2 separate regions of the Homo sapiens genome follow, and region 2 is linked to region 1. Evidence: promoter capture Hi-C in 16 types of primary human blood cells and fetal thymus (Javierre and others, 2016). All regions are on one chromosome and are shown on one strand. The core of a region is centred on a gene start or on the middle of the fragment in contact, and the rest is flanking DNA. Distances in the headings are between cores, read along the strand shown. Region 1 holds the start of PRKAG2-AS1 (PRKAG2 antisense RNA 1). Region 2 overlaps KMT2C (lysine methyltransferase 2C).

Region 1 (7,238 bases), core at 1,629-4,128:
TGTATATGATGTATATGTATATGTATATGTATATGATGTATATGTATATGTATATGATGTATATGTATATGATGTATATGTATATGTATATGATGTATATGTATATGTATATGATATATATGTATATGTATATGATGTATATGTATATGTATATGATGTATATGTATATGATGTATATGTATATGTATATGATGTATATGTATATGTATATGATGTATATGTATATGATGTATATGTATATGTATATGATGTATATGTATATGTATATGATGTATATGTATATGTATATGATGTATATGTATATGTATATGATGTATATGTATATGATGTATATGTATATGATGTATATGTATATGTATATGATGTATATGTATATGTATATGTATATGTATAAGCCATACATTTATAGGACACTTTACACTTGTCAAGAGTTTTCCCGGGATGGGTGTGATGGCTCACGCCTGTAATCCCAGCACTTTGAGAGGTCAAGGTGGGCGGGTCACTCGAGCCCAGCTCATGTGGACCAGCTTTGGGCAACATGGTAAAACCTCATGTCTACAAAAAAAATAAATAAATTAGATGGGTGTGGTGGCACATGCCTGTAGTCCCAGTTACTCAGGAGGCTGAGGTGGGAGGATCACTTGAGCCTGGGGAGGTTGAGGCTGCAGTGAGCCATGATTGCACCACTGCATTCCCACCTGGGGAGCAGAGTGACACCCTGACTCAAAACAAAAAAAACAATAAAAAAGAGTTTTCCCATGAATTACTTTATTTCAATATCCGTATAAAGCAGGAAAAATGGGTATTATTTCCTGCATTTGACAAATGGGAGAAACAGTAGTTACACGGTTAGCTCAAGTGATCACTGTTTAAGAGGTTTGTGGCAGCAACATCTAACTTTTAACTCACGAACATGGTTTTAAATGTCTTACATGAGAGATGTAAACAAGAATGTTTCATTTTCAAATAGAACACTTATTCCTGCATAATCGAGTCACCACCGTGGGGGCCACACAGCAGCCAGGGGTCCAAGTTTCCAGCCCCAGAGCTTTCCAGCCAGGGAGGGCTGGCCCAGGGCCCCTGTGGGGCTACTTGGCATCAGGTGTCTGGAGACCCGCCCCTGGACTCCACCCTCTTCACCCAAGCGTTAGGCACGTGTGGGCCGGAGTTTACACAGGAGGACCTTAGCGGGGCGTCTAAAAGAAGGGTGGCTCAGCAAACACGGGGCAGTGCGCCCTGGGATTCACAGTGGGAAGTGAGTGGCCTGCCTCGGCCATGCCAGCTGCGCCTGACCCTGTCGGGAAGGATTAGCTTTAATGAGGGGTCCGGACAGCCCATTCACTGCGCACTCCCACCCTGCCCCGGGAGAGCAAAATAACTTTCTCTACGGAGCACTCTGGTGTGTGTGTGTGTGTGTGTGTGTGTGTGTGTGTGTGTGTGTGTGTGTGTGTACACAAACATTTACTTGGTTGGCTGAGGCGGAGGGTGTGACCCAGTGGGCCACACCTCCCACCGCCCTACCCCGCTACGTGGAGGCGAGGAACAGTGGCCGCGGGCTACCGGGGCGCCTTCCGAAAAGAGAACCACTACGCGGCCCGCCGCCCCTCTGGCTGGACAAAGTGAAGCCGCAGGCAGATCCGAGTCGCCAATGTCCTCCCGGGCGGCTGGCGCGGACGGGGCTGAAGTTCAATGCAGCCTGCACGGATTAGGGAGCTCCGAGCCCCCAAATACCACAGAGACCCAAAGTACACTCCCGGGGCGGGGGAAGGGAACGGCGGCAGAGGAGACCCCCGCTCCAGGCCCAGAAACGCCCGGAGAGAAACTGGAGCGGAGGGGGTGCATTGGAAGACGCAGCTACACAGCTCCCCCCAACCCCCGCCCCGCTGCTTTCCCCACCCACCGCCCCTCCCCTCTCCTCCCTCCCCTCCCCTCTCTCCGTCTCCAGCAGCCGAGCGCGGGCTCCACCTCCCCGGAGCGCAGTCCACACCGTCCCTTTTCAGCAAAACAACACAACGCACCGCCCCCCGCACCCGCACCCGGCTGGATACCGGGCTACGCCCAGCCGCCCACCCGCCGCGCCCGGCGCCCCCTCTAGTCTGCAGCCGCCCAGCCCCCGCCCCAGGCGGAGCCCCAGCCCTGGCTGCACGCGGGCAGAGAGAGAGATTGAGCCCCGGCTCCGCCAGCCCAGCTCGGGCCCTGTCCCTCTACCCTTTCCCCAAGCCGCCCGAAGTGACAGGAGGGGCACGCACGGCGCGCGCGGGGCGTCCAGCGTTAACCGCTTCGGCGCCGGGGACGGGAGCGACAGGAGGGCTGGGGAGCAGGGGACCGAGTGCTGGGACTCACCGGAATGTGCACGCGCAGCGAACGCCTCTTCTGGCTGGCATTTTTCTTGCCGCCGCTCCCGCCGGGGCTGGAAACATCTTTTTTCTTCTTGGTGTCCATAACCGCGCTTCCCATAACTCTAACCAGAAGTTGATTCTGCGAAACTCCTCGGGGGTTCGGTCCCCTCCTTCCCTCCCCCGGCCGCTGCCTTCGGACTGGAGCCGCGCGCTCTGTTACACCCTGAAGCCACCTCGTGGGGACTTCCGCGGAGAGGGAGGGTGAGCAGGGAACTCGCGCGGCCGCCGCCGCCGCCGAAGCGCCGAATTCAAGCGTCCTTTCCTACGGAACCCTCGTAGGCAAATCAGTCAAAGCCCGTCCCGGTTCTGGTGTCTCCCCGGGTTACTCGTGGCTGAGGTCTCCCGCTGGGTGACAAAGTTTTCTTCCTTTTGCAAAGCTAAGAAACATTTTCCACCCTCTCGGCTCCTCCCACAGATTCCCAGAGGTAATCTGAAAGGCAGGTGCAATTAAAACCAGCAATTTGGAAAACAAGCCTCCTATGCCTGTGCCCAAGTGGGGAATCTGGAACCAGTAAGCCCGTTCGTGCATAAATGTAATCCTCGGCCGCAGAATAAACCAGCTCGGAGCCTGCAGCTGGGTCCGTCCTCCTTTCTGGGCGAGAGGGAGGGCGGCGGGGGAAGAGGAGGTGCAAGGCGAGCCCTCTGCGCAATTAGGCTACGGGCGGCCGCTGGCAGAAGTTCTGGCGGCGGCGCTCGCGGCCCTGCGCGCCGGAGGGGGCGCCCGGAGTCCAGCGGGCCAAGAAGGGCAGGGCGCCCGCTCCTCGCCCCCCGCCGCGCCGCGGCCCCAGGGGACCGCAAGGGGACAGTGAGGGGCCGGGCCTGGCACCGACGCAAGCTCGGGGAGCGCGGGTGGTGGGAGGCGGCGCGTGTTGAACAGGAAGTGCGCGGCGTGCAGCGCCACCGTCCCGCTCCCCGTCGCCCCACGCCGCCCTCGTCGCCGCGCCCAGACCCCTGCGGCGGCCGCAGCCGCTTGGGACTCGCTGCGAGCTGGTTTCGGATCCATCCCGCCTCCCGGCGTCTCACTGTGTGCCCTACCCTTTGAAACACGCCCCCGCGCCCGCCCTGCCGTAGACCAGGCAGCGAGGAAGCCCACAGTCTCCGGGGGCGCTGCGCGCGAAGTAGCACGTGCTTCTCGAAACACCGCAGCCCCCGGGTCCCGCCCCGCCCGGCGCGCGCACTCGAACCCGCCCAGAGAGCGGTGCGTGGCGCTGGGTGCGAGCAGGGTCTAGCCACCCCCACCCTCACCCCACCCCACCCCACCCTGCTTTTTTCAGGTTCATCAAGGTTTGCGCAGTGGATCCGCGGTAAGTGCGTGTCCCCACGCCGCGGGAAACGTGGGGCTCCTGAGACTGCGGAAAGAATTGGGAGAAGGGGAGGGCTCGAAGACCCGGGCGAGGGTTCCCGGTGCGGCCCAGGTCCTTTAGAGCCCCGGGTGGGCATCCAGTACCGCCTGCTGCCGAGGGCCCTAGAGGGGTTGGGGGAGGGGGCTGGTGTGTCCCCCACCCCCAGATGCGCCCCAGGATGGCGCGACCTCGGCTCCCTGGTGGAAAGTAGGGGGAGTGCTGGCTTGGGGGTCGCTTCCCCTCCTGCTCTAGTTTCTGAGGATGTGATGACCCCAAAGGTCATTGGCGCTCCCAGAATGCTGACGTCAGCTCAGCCGCTCCGAGTAATCAGTAATGCAGGGAGGCCACCCGCAGAAAGAACGCGACAGGGGTCGCTTTGGGGACACCATAGGGCCTTTACTCCTTTTGAGGTGCGTGCTTTCGCAGGACTCCCTCCCCAGAGGAGGAGGCATGATCAGCCCACCCAAAGGATCATCTCTTAGGAAGCAGGCGTGCGCCCACGCAGGGAGAAGCATCCTTCCTTTCAGCTGCTTGCCGGGTGGCTTTTCCAACCCGAGTTCCAGCAGCTTGCACAAAATCCTTACAGCTTGGGTGGTTCCCTGGCTCATAGGGGTGGGTTTATATTCTTTCTCCTTCTCCTCTGCTCTCTGGTCCAGAATGAAGCCAGCCTGGAAGATCCCCAGTCTCGAGACAGAGCCTGACAGGGGCAGATGCACTGGAAGGACCCTGTCTGGGTTTAGCAACCAAGCAGCCATCCTGGCCCCACAGGTGTGGGACTTCTGGGTCTTCTCCTGGCTGGCTTCTTGCTAGAGGATTTCAAGAGACCCAGCAAGACTGTATTGTCCCACTGAATGCTCAAGATATTGGTTAGAAGTAGAAAAGGGGAGGGGGTAGTATTTAGCCTCTGTCCCCACTAAAAATTATTCCCAATTGTCATTTGTGTCATCTGTTTAGCTTACAGTTTTAATCCTTGTCAAAATGATCATTTGCCAGGGTGCATAAAACACCCTATTTGATGAGAACTGGTTTTAAAGGAAAATGGGGCCATCAGAAGGAAGCCGGTTGGTGTGAAGAGACGTCTGGGAAGAGCCCCTGGCGAGGGCCCTCATTCCACTGGGTGACCCAGAAGGAGAAAACCGCGATGGCGCTTCTCATTTGAAATGTTTTCTTTATGGACAGTGTTTAGCAATTGTTATAATGTGTACTTTTGTTGATTGATCTGTATACATATGTAAAATAATTTGTTCTCTGAGTTAATTTTGTTGGAACAAAGACTTTAGTGCTTCCTACATTAAAACATTTTACTGTATTGCCTGCATTTTAAGAGCCTTTTTTTAATTTTTAATTTTTTTGGTCCTTGTGATATGACGAGGTATAAATTCTGGGTTTTGTCCAGGGTTCCTGGCTTAGCACTCTCGTCGCCCTCATCACAGTCTCTTGTTATAATGTTGGGGCGCTTTAGGCCTCAGACACCCCAGGAAACAATCTCCTCTGAACTTCCCCTGCCCTCCTTCACCACCTCACCAGCCCAAGGCAGGACTCTAATCCTCCCTCATCTTTCTGATTGTGGGACTTAAGACCCTCTATTCAGAAGGGGTCCTGCCCCATTCCCGAGAGGAAGAAATCCTGCACGGAAAGGCCAATAACGGTCGGAATAGGCAGGACTTGTTTGGGTGTCCACACTTACTCAGTCACTATTGGATCATACCTTTTTGTTCGATCACATTTCTGCATGGTCGTCAATCGTGTCTGTCCAATGAAGTCTCCTTAAGAAGCCCAAGAGGTCTGGGTTTGGGGGCTTCTGGATCCCTGGACATGTGGAGGCTGCTGGAAGACGGGGTGCCTGGGAAGGGCATGGAAACTCCGTGCCTGTTCTCCCTGTACATCCCATCATCTGTGTTCTTGGTAATATGCGTTATAATAAACCAGTAAATGTACATTTCCCTGAGTTCTGTGTTCCACTCTAGCAAATTAATGAACCTGAGAGGGGGTTGTGGGAACCCCAATTGAGAGCCCAGCCTGTCGGTCAGAAGCTCCGGATGCCTGGACTTGCAACTGCTGTGCGAAGTGGGATGGGGGTGGGGTGCCTTGGGGATTGAGCCCTCAACCTGTGGGATCTGCCACTATCTCCAGGTAGACAGTGTCAGAAATGAGTTGGAAGACACCCTGGTGTCTCCTGCGGAACTGATTGCTTGCTTGGCAGTGGGGAGAACCCCCAACACACACATATGGTGACACGAACCTTCCGCGTTGATGATTGTCGTAGCGTGAGAGCAGAGGAAAAAACAATTTGGGATTTTTCCCTTCAGGGTTCTATATATGAATATTTCTGAATTATGGGGGTTGCTTATAGATGATGTCAGAAGAAGTTTACCTGCCATTTTTTTCCTTCTAGAGATACATTAACAAATTGATCACATATCTTCTGACTGGTGGAGTCTCAGAGTGGAAGGAACACAGTAATTGTTTTGATTTGAGGTGTTTTCTGAAAACCCCCGTCTTCCCCTCCCGTTGGTGTGCACACAGTTATTTTAGCCAGGAGCTAAATGTCGCGGGCCCACGCGACGTTGTTCATATAATGACCCCTGACATTCACTCTTTCTCTATGCCCTACCTATGACCTCCTTCTCAACATTAATGCAGTAAAATCTGTGCTGAACAAAAGGCCAAAACTTTAAGTAAGGCTCTGACAATGTCACTGATTCTGCCTTTTGCCTCCGGTGCCAATATTGCTCGGCTCAGCACTGTTACTGATCCTGTCTTTGTGTAAAATTCTAATGTTTAGAAATATATTGCATTACATATTCTTTATCTTGGTGACTGAGTTTTTGGCACCCCCTTAAATTTTGCACCTGAGGCCAATGCCTCATTCACCTCCCCCTCGTCTTCCGAGAAGGATGAGAAGGAGAACTTGGCCAGGCCTGGAGCTGGGGCTGGGGCTGGGGCTGGGGCTGGAGCCGGGGCAGGGGCTGGGGCTGGATCTGGGGCTGGGGTCAGGGCTAGGGCTTAGGCCAAAGCACCCAGCTTGCTTCAGCCAGAGGAGCTGCCTCTGACCAGCTATGCAATGGGGGCAGGTCCCTTAGTTCCCCATCTGTAAGAGAAGTGGGATGGTCTTCAGAATATTTCTGTGGCCTCTTTAAGGGAGCTTGTATTTTTGTCCTGATTGTATTTGGTATGTCTTTGTTAATTGTATTGCTCTAGTAATTTATTTTTTATTGAATTTTACAAAGTATCATTCCACAGTAAGTTGGAAATTAAAAACAAACAGAAACAACTAAAAAACCACCCAAGGCCCTTCCTACAGATGGTTTGGGATAGCTTGTTGGAGAAAGGGGCATATTGAGTGTATCAGTCTGTTCCCATGCTGCTAGTAAAGACATACCTTAGACTGGGTAATTTATAAAGGAAAGAGGTTTAATTGACTCACAGTTCCACATGGCTGGGGAGGCCTCACAATCATGGTGAAAAGCAAGGAGAAGGAAAGACACGTCTTACA
Region 2 (7,238 bases), core at 3,140-5,639, 260 kb after region 1:
TTTTTTTTAACTTTTTCAAATTTTTGTGTTAAATAGAAGGCTAAAGGGTTAGATTTAAGTTTCTGCTACATGATCCTATTACGTTTACATGATTCTCTGTGGCTGAAACAAAGTTCTAATCAAAACTACTTTTGCTGAAGAAAAAATTCAGCCTCCATTTGGGTGTATTTTTAAGCAGTTATTCACAGTTATCACAAATTGTAAGCACAAAAAAACCTGACTGAAGAAGTAGGGATGCAACAATATAATATGAAAAAATTAGTTTAAATTACCAAAACAGCTATAAAAGTTGTAGTCGTAGCATACGCCCCGCTCTGTCAGAAGTAAGGTGTATAAAACCATTGAGTACTAATAGACTGCGGTTTCCAAAAAACCCCCAACACTCTAGGTTGAAATTTTGGTTATTACATAATTATAATGGCATATTTTATAACACAAAATTATATTGTAACATCCCTATGAACATTTTATAAGCCCCCGAGCTGCTGCAGAGCCTGGTAGCATTTGGTCAATAACTATTTTTATACTGTATTTTTTCTCAAAATATTTACATATCTGTACAAAGTAACAGGGTTTGTTAGTTCTGCAGGTAACAGCAGCAGCTTGGCTTTCTTCTAACTTTATTTAAAAATAGCTTCATTCACTTATTCAATAATAAATACAAAAGTTTCTCTTATTTTACAGAAATCAAAAACTACAATAAACTGACTCATGGAATCAAGTATTTAAATGTATTTAGTGCAAGTTATTATCCCTTAGCTCTATCCCTAAGGAAGTCATTTCAGTACATTCCTTGTTCAGTGGTGTCTACTTTATTTAAAAACATTTTGAAGTTAGAGGGCCTGCCCCTTTTTAATAAGGCCGTGGCCAGCACTCTCTGTCCCCCTCGCTGGTGATTTCAGTCTTACATTCATAGGAAGGCCCCTGCCCGGGGCAGGGCAGCCATCGGCTCTTTGCCCCAGTAAAAGTTTCTCCTTAGTGAGACTAGAAAACCAAAACAATGAAACCCACCCACAAGGGAAAAACAAAACAAAAAACAAACAAAAAAAAAAGAAAAGGAAAAGAAAAAAAAGCAAAAGTGCTGGACCATTCTGTGATTCCGTTTAACCTCGGCCACTTCAGGAACGCTGCTTCTGTCAGCTTCCTCCTGGCGCTGCTTTAACCTAAAGGACTGAGGAAATCAGAACTCCCAGAAGCTTTTTCAAAAAGTCATAAAACAGAAAACAAAAATCTCTTTCTGTCTGCAAAATTCCAATGGTGTGTTGAATCGCCTCTTCCTAGGGACAAGCCGCCCGCTGAGCTAGCAAGGAATGCATTTCAGTTCATCCACTTCCGGCAGTTCACAGCTCCACAGTGACACGGAATCTTGTGCTGGTCATCTTCAAAGTCAAACTTATAGTCATAGCAGAGCTGCCCACGGCAAAGACACAGGGTAAGAAAGGACAGCAAGGAAGGCAATAGCGTTTCTGCCTCCATCTCCCTTGCATTTTAAAACCAGCAAACGAAACAGACGTAAATTAAGGAAGACCTGATTTATTGAGGTTCCATGGGACCCTGGGGGAACCCTGAAAAGAGGCATTGTGCTTGCACAGAGGAAATGAGGGAGGCAGTATTTTTAAACAGCGAGATCTGAGAACGGGAGCCTGACCAGAGAAAGCTGTATTTCTGTGACTTCTCATAATGCTGTCCCTGCAAGTGGATGGAGGGGACTGGAAGGGCAACTGCTTTCCTAGCCCTCTCCCTAAAACCCAGAAGCCTTTCACCTCCCCTGATTTACTGAATGGGGCATGCAATTCTGGGTGAGATGAACTGCCAGCTAACTCTGTTTTCCCTCCTTCATTTTTCCTCACTCAAGACTGAAAGGATGTCTTTCTATTTAGAGGTCACCAAATTAACATCTCAGACCAATCAAGGTAGGTGGGAGTCTGCGTGAGTCCCACGGTACAAGCCTCAGTGCGCGGCCCTGCAACCCCCACCACCCCAGAGAGAGCCGATGCTGCAAAATGAAGGGGAGGCCCAGGAATTTCTAGGTCTCTTCTGAGTGAAATGATTCTAGACGCTAGCTGGAAAGACCTTCTACACAGAAAGGAAGGAAACCAGTGTTTATTGAGCAGCTGTTCTTGGCAATGATTCCACTGCTTTCTTTCAGGTATCTGCTGAGTCCTTCCAAGAGCCTGGTAAGGAAGTCATTTTCTCTATCTTGCAGAAGATAAAATAGGGGCTCATATTAAACTATTTACTCAAGAATACTCAAGTAGGAAGGAGGCAGGTGGCCCTGGGCTGAGTCTCTTCTGACCACCATGGTAGCCATTGGTTACTGGCACTGTGCCAGGGCTCCCACACACTGTCTTATTTACACGTTACTTTGAGATGTATAACGGGCCTTGGGTCTAGTCGGATCCTTATTCTTGACTAAGAAAGGAGATTCCACAAAGACCCAAAATACAGATAGAATCCCACGAATCCCATGGCTATGTTCACGAAGGGAGAGGAGCACCAACAAAGTCAAGTCACTCAGGTGCCTCACTCCCCAAATGCGGGACGTTTCCTACAGAAACCAAGCCTGCTGCTCAGTGACAGCTTTCCAGGAAATGCCAATTCCAGAACCAAGGTACCTGAATCACAGTGGGAAAGACCAAGGTGGGAAGCAAATGCAGCAATTAAGGCCAAAAATAATCCCAATGGGTGAGCCGCCGGACCAGAGTCACCTCTGAGAGCACGGAGACAAACAGCAAGCTTGGCACTCGGCATTTTGAAGACAACAACCCACACCTGAACTGCTGAAGAATGTGGCGATGTGGGCACTTGGTTAAGCACACACTGATCGCCAGCGTGAGCACACAATCCTCAGCAGCACGGCGGCCCAGATTTGCCGCCCACAGCCCAACAGTGCCATCTCAGGAGCCACGGCCCCCTTGGAGAAGGACGGGGATGCTCTTCAGAGGGGACACTGCCAAACTGTGTCCAGGTTAAGGGGATAAAGAAGGATCCTATGGCACACAGAAATGATACCACCTGGGTGCCATGGGGATGCTGAACCCGTGGCACAGAAGGGAAGGGAGAGGTGACAGCAAATGCTCACAGAGCTGCCATGTGGAGGAAGGTGAACTGGAGTGCCTGAAGGGTGAGATACTGCAGGGTGGGAACATCTGGCCTATTATGGACAGAGTTTTTATCACAACAAAGAATTGGGAAACAAGTGAGTAAGTGACCTGTGTGAGGAGGGAACTATTCGCCCAGGATCTGAACAACATGGCAGATGCAATCTCTCACACTCTTACCTCTTCTCCTTTCTGGATTCTCCGACTGGAGCTGATGATAATTTTGTGTCCTCTCTCAAAAGTCACCACTTCAGCCACACAATTAGGTGCACACGAATGGTTGATATACCTGCAAGCCACCATGTCAGAAAACTGTATTGTAAAACAGCTAGAAGCAGCTTTAAAAACTTCCCATTTATTGATAAAGCAGTTTTTGCTAATTAAATTTCTATTTGCCCATTGTTAGAAGCACAAATATAACATTTAAATAAAAATTCTCAACTCATTTGCTCTGAATGTTTAGTCACCGCCAGGCTGCCGTGAGAGCCTTTCCCTTGGCTTCAGTGTTCTCTCCACCAGCACTGGCCCCACAAGCAAAAGCACTCCCCGTCAGGTTCCTCGCTGTCTCACCTTGCGGGCCCTCCTGTGAGCGTCGCGTCAATCACATGGTCGTTATCCATGCGGAACATGTACACACCACGGTTCTGAGGGAAAAGTCAGTCAGTAAGTCATCAATGTCGACCTGAAACTCCCCTCTGTGTTCCTATCCACACCAGGAGGACTCAGTCGAAACTGAACGGAACGGCAGCCTGATCATCCTTACTGTGGATATTCTATTAGGCACAGATGACATTTACATGGCACGAATGGAAAGCATGGAATCAGTAGGTTGTGTGTGAAGCCAGGCTCATTAATTTACAGTTGTCTATCAAAGTAAACTGTAACACCAATTGAAAGAGATACAACTGATAAAAATACACTAATATACAGATATGGCTTTTGTTTAAAGCTGAATGCAGCATGACAGATTTCATTCTGCCTTCCAGGGTGTCTGGCTGGCACGGAGAAAGGGAGAGGATGATGGTGCTGTGTATACAATCTCGGGGACCAGACACCTACCTGAGACTCATAAAGCTTCTCTTTCCTGTTGGCTACTTCGTTTCGAATGATAGTCCCGATGTACTCAATGACCATGGTGTGTTTCTCAATGTCTCGAGCAGCATACAGGCCCAGCCCCTAAAAAAAAGTGTGTACATACTTCCAATTTATGTGACAACAAGTCTTTTTTCTGTTTTTCATACAAAGGTTTCACCCTCGGGTCTTATTAGAAGCCATACTTAAGTTTCACTTGAACTCAAATCATTTTTGAATATGCTATTTTCTGAAATTTTAAAAATTGGACATTTTTACTACTTAAAACTATGCCATCACTAGCTTATTCCTACATCTTTTTTAGCACTAAATTCTTAGAGTCTATGTATAAAGTAGTACTGTGGCTTGGCTGTCTTATGTATTAGGCTATCTAACCTTCCAGATGAGATAGCTGAGTTCCCACCAACTAAATAAGCTTATTGACTTGTGGTGTTTATTTTACCCCAATACTATTTCAAAAAAGACATAATAAATTCAATAACATAGAAATCAGGCTAACTATAACCAATCACTGATACTGTAAACAGGGTTCAGACTTGGCTCTGAGTTTCCCAGCAGCCAGGGCAAAGAGCAGACACAGGAAACGTCACTCTGCTGTAAATATCAGGAATGTTGGAAACAAATGAAGCTCTTGGGGAAGGTAAATTTTTCACTAATACAAAATTCTGAGGCTGGGAAAGAAGTTTGAACGGGCTGAAATGGAAGCAGCTCTCACTGCGCAGCTTGTACTCCCGTGCTGGTGGCCTGCCAGGTGCACTATTCAGGTTGGTAGCACAACTTGTAGAGAAACATACTAACAAAATATGGGTCTTTGCCATAAATAGTTGTATTTTCTTGTCCCAATTTTGGGTTTTTGCACTTAATTCTGACTAGAAGGCAACTGAATGCAAAAGTACTAGACTAGATGCAACTGAATCAGAAGTACTAGACTAGAATGCAATTCTAGAATTGAACTGAATTCTAGAATGCAGAAATCAACTGCATTCTAGTCGGAATTACTAGGAGGACCATGTGCTGCCCCAGCTGCATCCTCATGAAGCACATCCGGGAGCACATGGTGGGAAGGGCCATGTGAGAGACTTTAGTATGTGAACTGATTTATCCTCTGAACAAGCATCTTTGATTATCTGTTCTACTCCAGATACAACTCACAAGTGAATGAACCAGAACACACAAAAAGTATGTATGGAGATCAATAGAGTGTGGTTTAAGAATAAACAAGATCAGTGGAAATGAAGAGATTCCAAATGGGCCAGGCGTGGTGACTCATGCCTATAATCCCACCACTTTGGGAAGCCAAGGCAGGCAGATCCCTTGAGGTCAGGAGTTCAAGACCAGCCTGGCCAACATGGTGAAACCCCGTCTCTACTAAAAATACAAAAATTAGCTGGGCATGGTGGCGTGTGCCTGTAATTCCAGCTACTAGGGAGGCTGAGCCAAGAGAATTGCTTGAGCCCCAGAGGCAGAGGTTGCAGTGAGCTGAGATCATGCCACTGCACTCCAGCCTGGGCAACAGAGTGAGACTCCAGAGGCTGAGGCATGAGAATCGCTTTAATCTGGGAGCCAAGATGGCACCACTGCACTCCAGTCTGGGTGACAGAGTGAGACTCCATCTCAGAAAAGAGAAATAGATCCCTGCATGTATGAAAATCTAACGTACAGTAGTAACTGGTATTAAAATTCAGTTTATAGTCAAGATTTCGTGGGGTTAGAAGAAAAAGGCCAGGTGCGGTGGCTCACACCTGTAATACCAGCACTTTGGGAGGCAGAGGTGGGCGGGTCACAAGGTCAGGAGTTTGAGGACCAGCCTGGCCAATATGGTGAAATCCCATCTCTACTTAAAAAAAAAAAAAAAATTAGCCGGGCATGGTAGTACACACCTGTAGTCCCAGTTACTTGGGAGGCTGAGGCAGAAGAATCGCTTGAACCTGGGAGGCAGAGGTTGCAGTGAGCCGAGATCGTGCCACTGCACTCCAGCCTGGGTGACAGAGGAAGACTCTGTCTCAAAAAAAAAAAAAAAAAAAATTCATGCCAGCCACGGGGGCTCATGCCTGTAATCCCAGCACTTTGGGAGGCCGAGGCAGGTGAATTGCTTGAGTTCAGAAGTTCAAGACCAGCCTGGACAACATGGCAAAACCTCATCTCTAAATAAATATTTTTAAAAATTAGCCAAGTATTGTGGCATGCGCCTGTAGCCCTGGCTACTCAGGAGGCTGAGGTAAGAGGATCGCTTGAGCCCAGGAGATCGAAGCTGCAGTGAGCTGAGATTGTGCCACCGCACTCCAGCCTGGGCGACACAGTGAGACCCTGTCTCAAAGAAGAAGAAAGAAAATCAGTTAAAAATGAGTGGGTTACTTCTAAATGGCCCTTCAACAACTGGTTATCCAATGGAAGAAAGCGAAATTGTATTTTAAAAATGTTATGCAAGAAAACCTCTAGAATCCGTATATAATCTAGGGTCTTGACCAAGACTAGATGCAACAGAAAATTATGTATGTTTGTTTATATAAACAGTAACTTTTACAAGAAAAAAGATGTCACACTTGCTGGTAGGCAAAGGATATTTTGTAGGGGAAAATTCTGAATAGTGTAAACTGCTAAAAATTGAAAAATGGACAAAGGATATGAATACGCAATTCCTATGAAAGCAAATCCAAATGGCGGACATGAAAAGCTGCCTATTCAATTAAGGTAACATCAGTCTATATTTATCAGACCAACTAAACAAAAAAATAGTAACACCAGCTACAAATGGGAAACAAGAAAACAGTCTCACATGCTGCAGGAAGAAGTGTGCAGTAAGAGACTTTTTAGAAAACTGGCAATATCTATTTAAATGAAAAGTACACACGCTTTTACACAGAAACCTCACGTTTGGGAATATACCCCATAGGAGTGAAACTATTAATTCATTGTGATATTTGTACAAGATATAGCAACACTGTTTGTTATGAGAAAAATTATAAATCAAATACACACTCATCAGTAATGCAATGGTTTAACTGCAGTTCATCAACACTATGGAACATCAGGTAACCATTCAAA

The links. The method cuts DNA at HindIII sites, captures the fragments that hold promoters and counts their contacts. A CHiCAGO score of 5 or more calls a contact.
Region 2: a contact is called between a fragment that was not itself captured here and the fragment with the promoter of PRKAG2-AS1 in region 1, in 1 of 17 cell types (naive CD8 T cells). The highest score is 5.1, in naive CD8 T cells.

The regions. Positions count from the first base shown.
Region 1 is chr7:151,874,164-151,881,401 of GRCh38, forward strand. PRKAG2-AS1 (PRKAG2 antisense RNA 1) reads left to right here and starts at 2,879. Exons shown (of 3, transcript NR_038926.1): 1 at 2,879-2,977; 2 at 3,674-3,703; 3 at 4,399-5,060. PRKAG2 (protein kinase AMP-activated non-catalytic subunit gamma 2) reads right to left here and starts at 2,952. Exons shown (of 16, transcript NM_016203.4): 1 at 2,344-2,952. The coding sequence starts at 2,457. RefSeq lists an enhancer at 1,695-1,814 and silencers at 2,005-2,144, 2,205-2,254, 3,017-3,446. The HindIII fragment of the contact is 12,278 bases long and covers 1-7,238 here.
Region 2 is chr7:152,135,515-152,142,752 of GRCh38, forward strand. It overlaps KMT2C (lysine methyltransferase 2C), which reads right to left. Exons shown (of 59, transcript NM_170606.3): 56 at 4,161-4,277; 57 at 3,672-3,745; 58 at 3,282-3,390; 59 at 1-1,410. The coding sequence ends at 1,318. Among named protein-coding and RNA genes, the nearest start is that of GALNT11, 110 kb to the left of the region's middle. The HindIII fragment of the contact is 433 bases long and covers 4,174-4,606 here.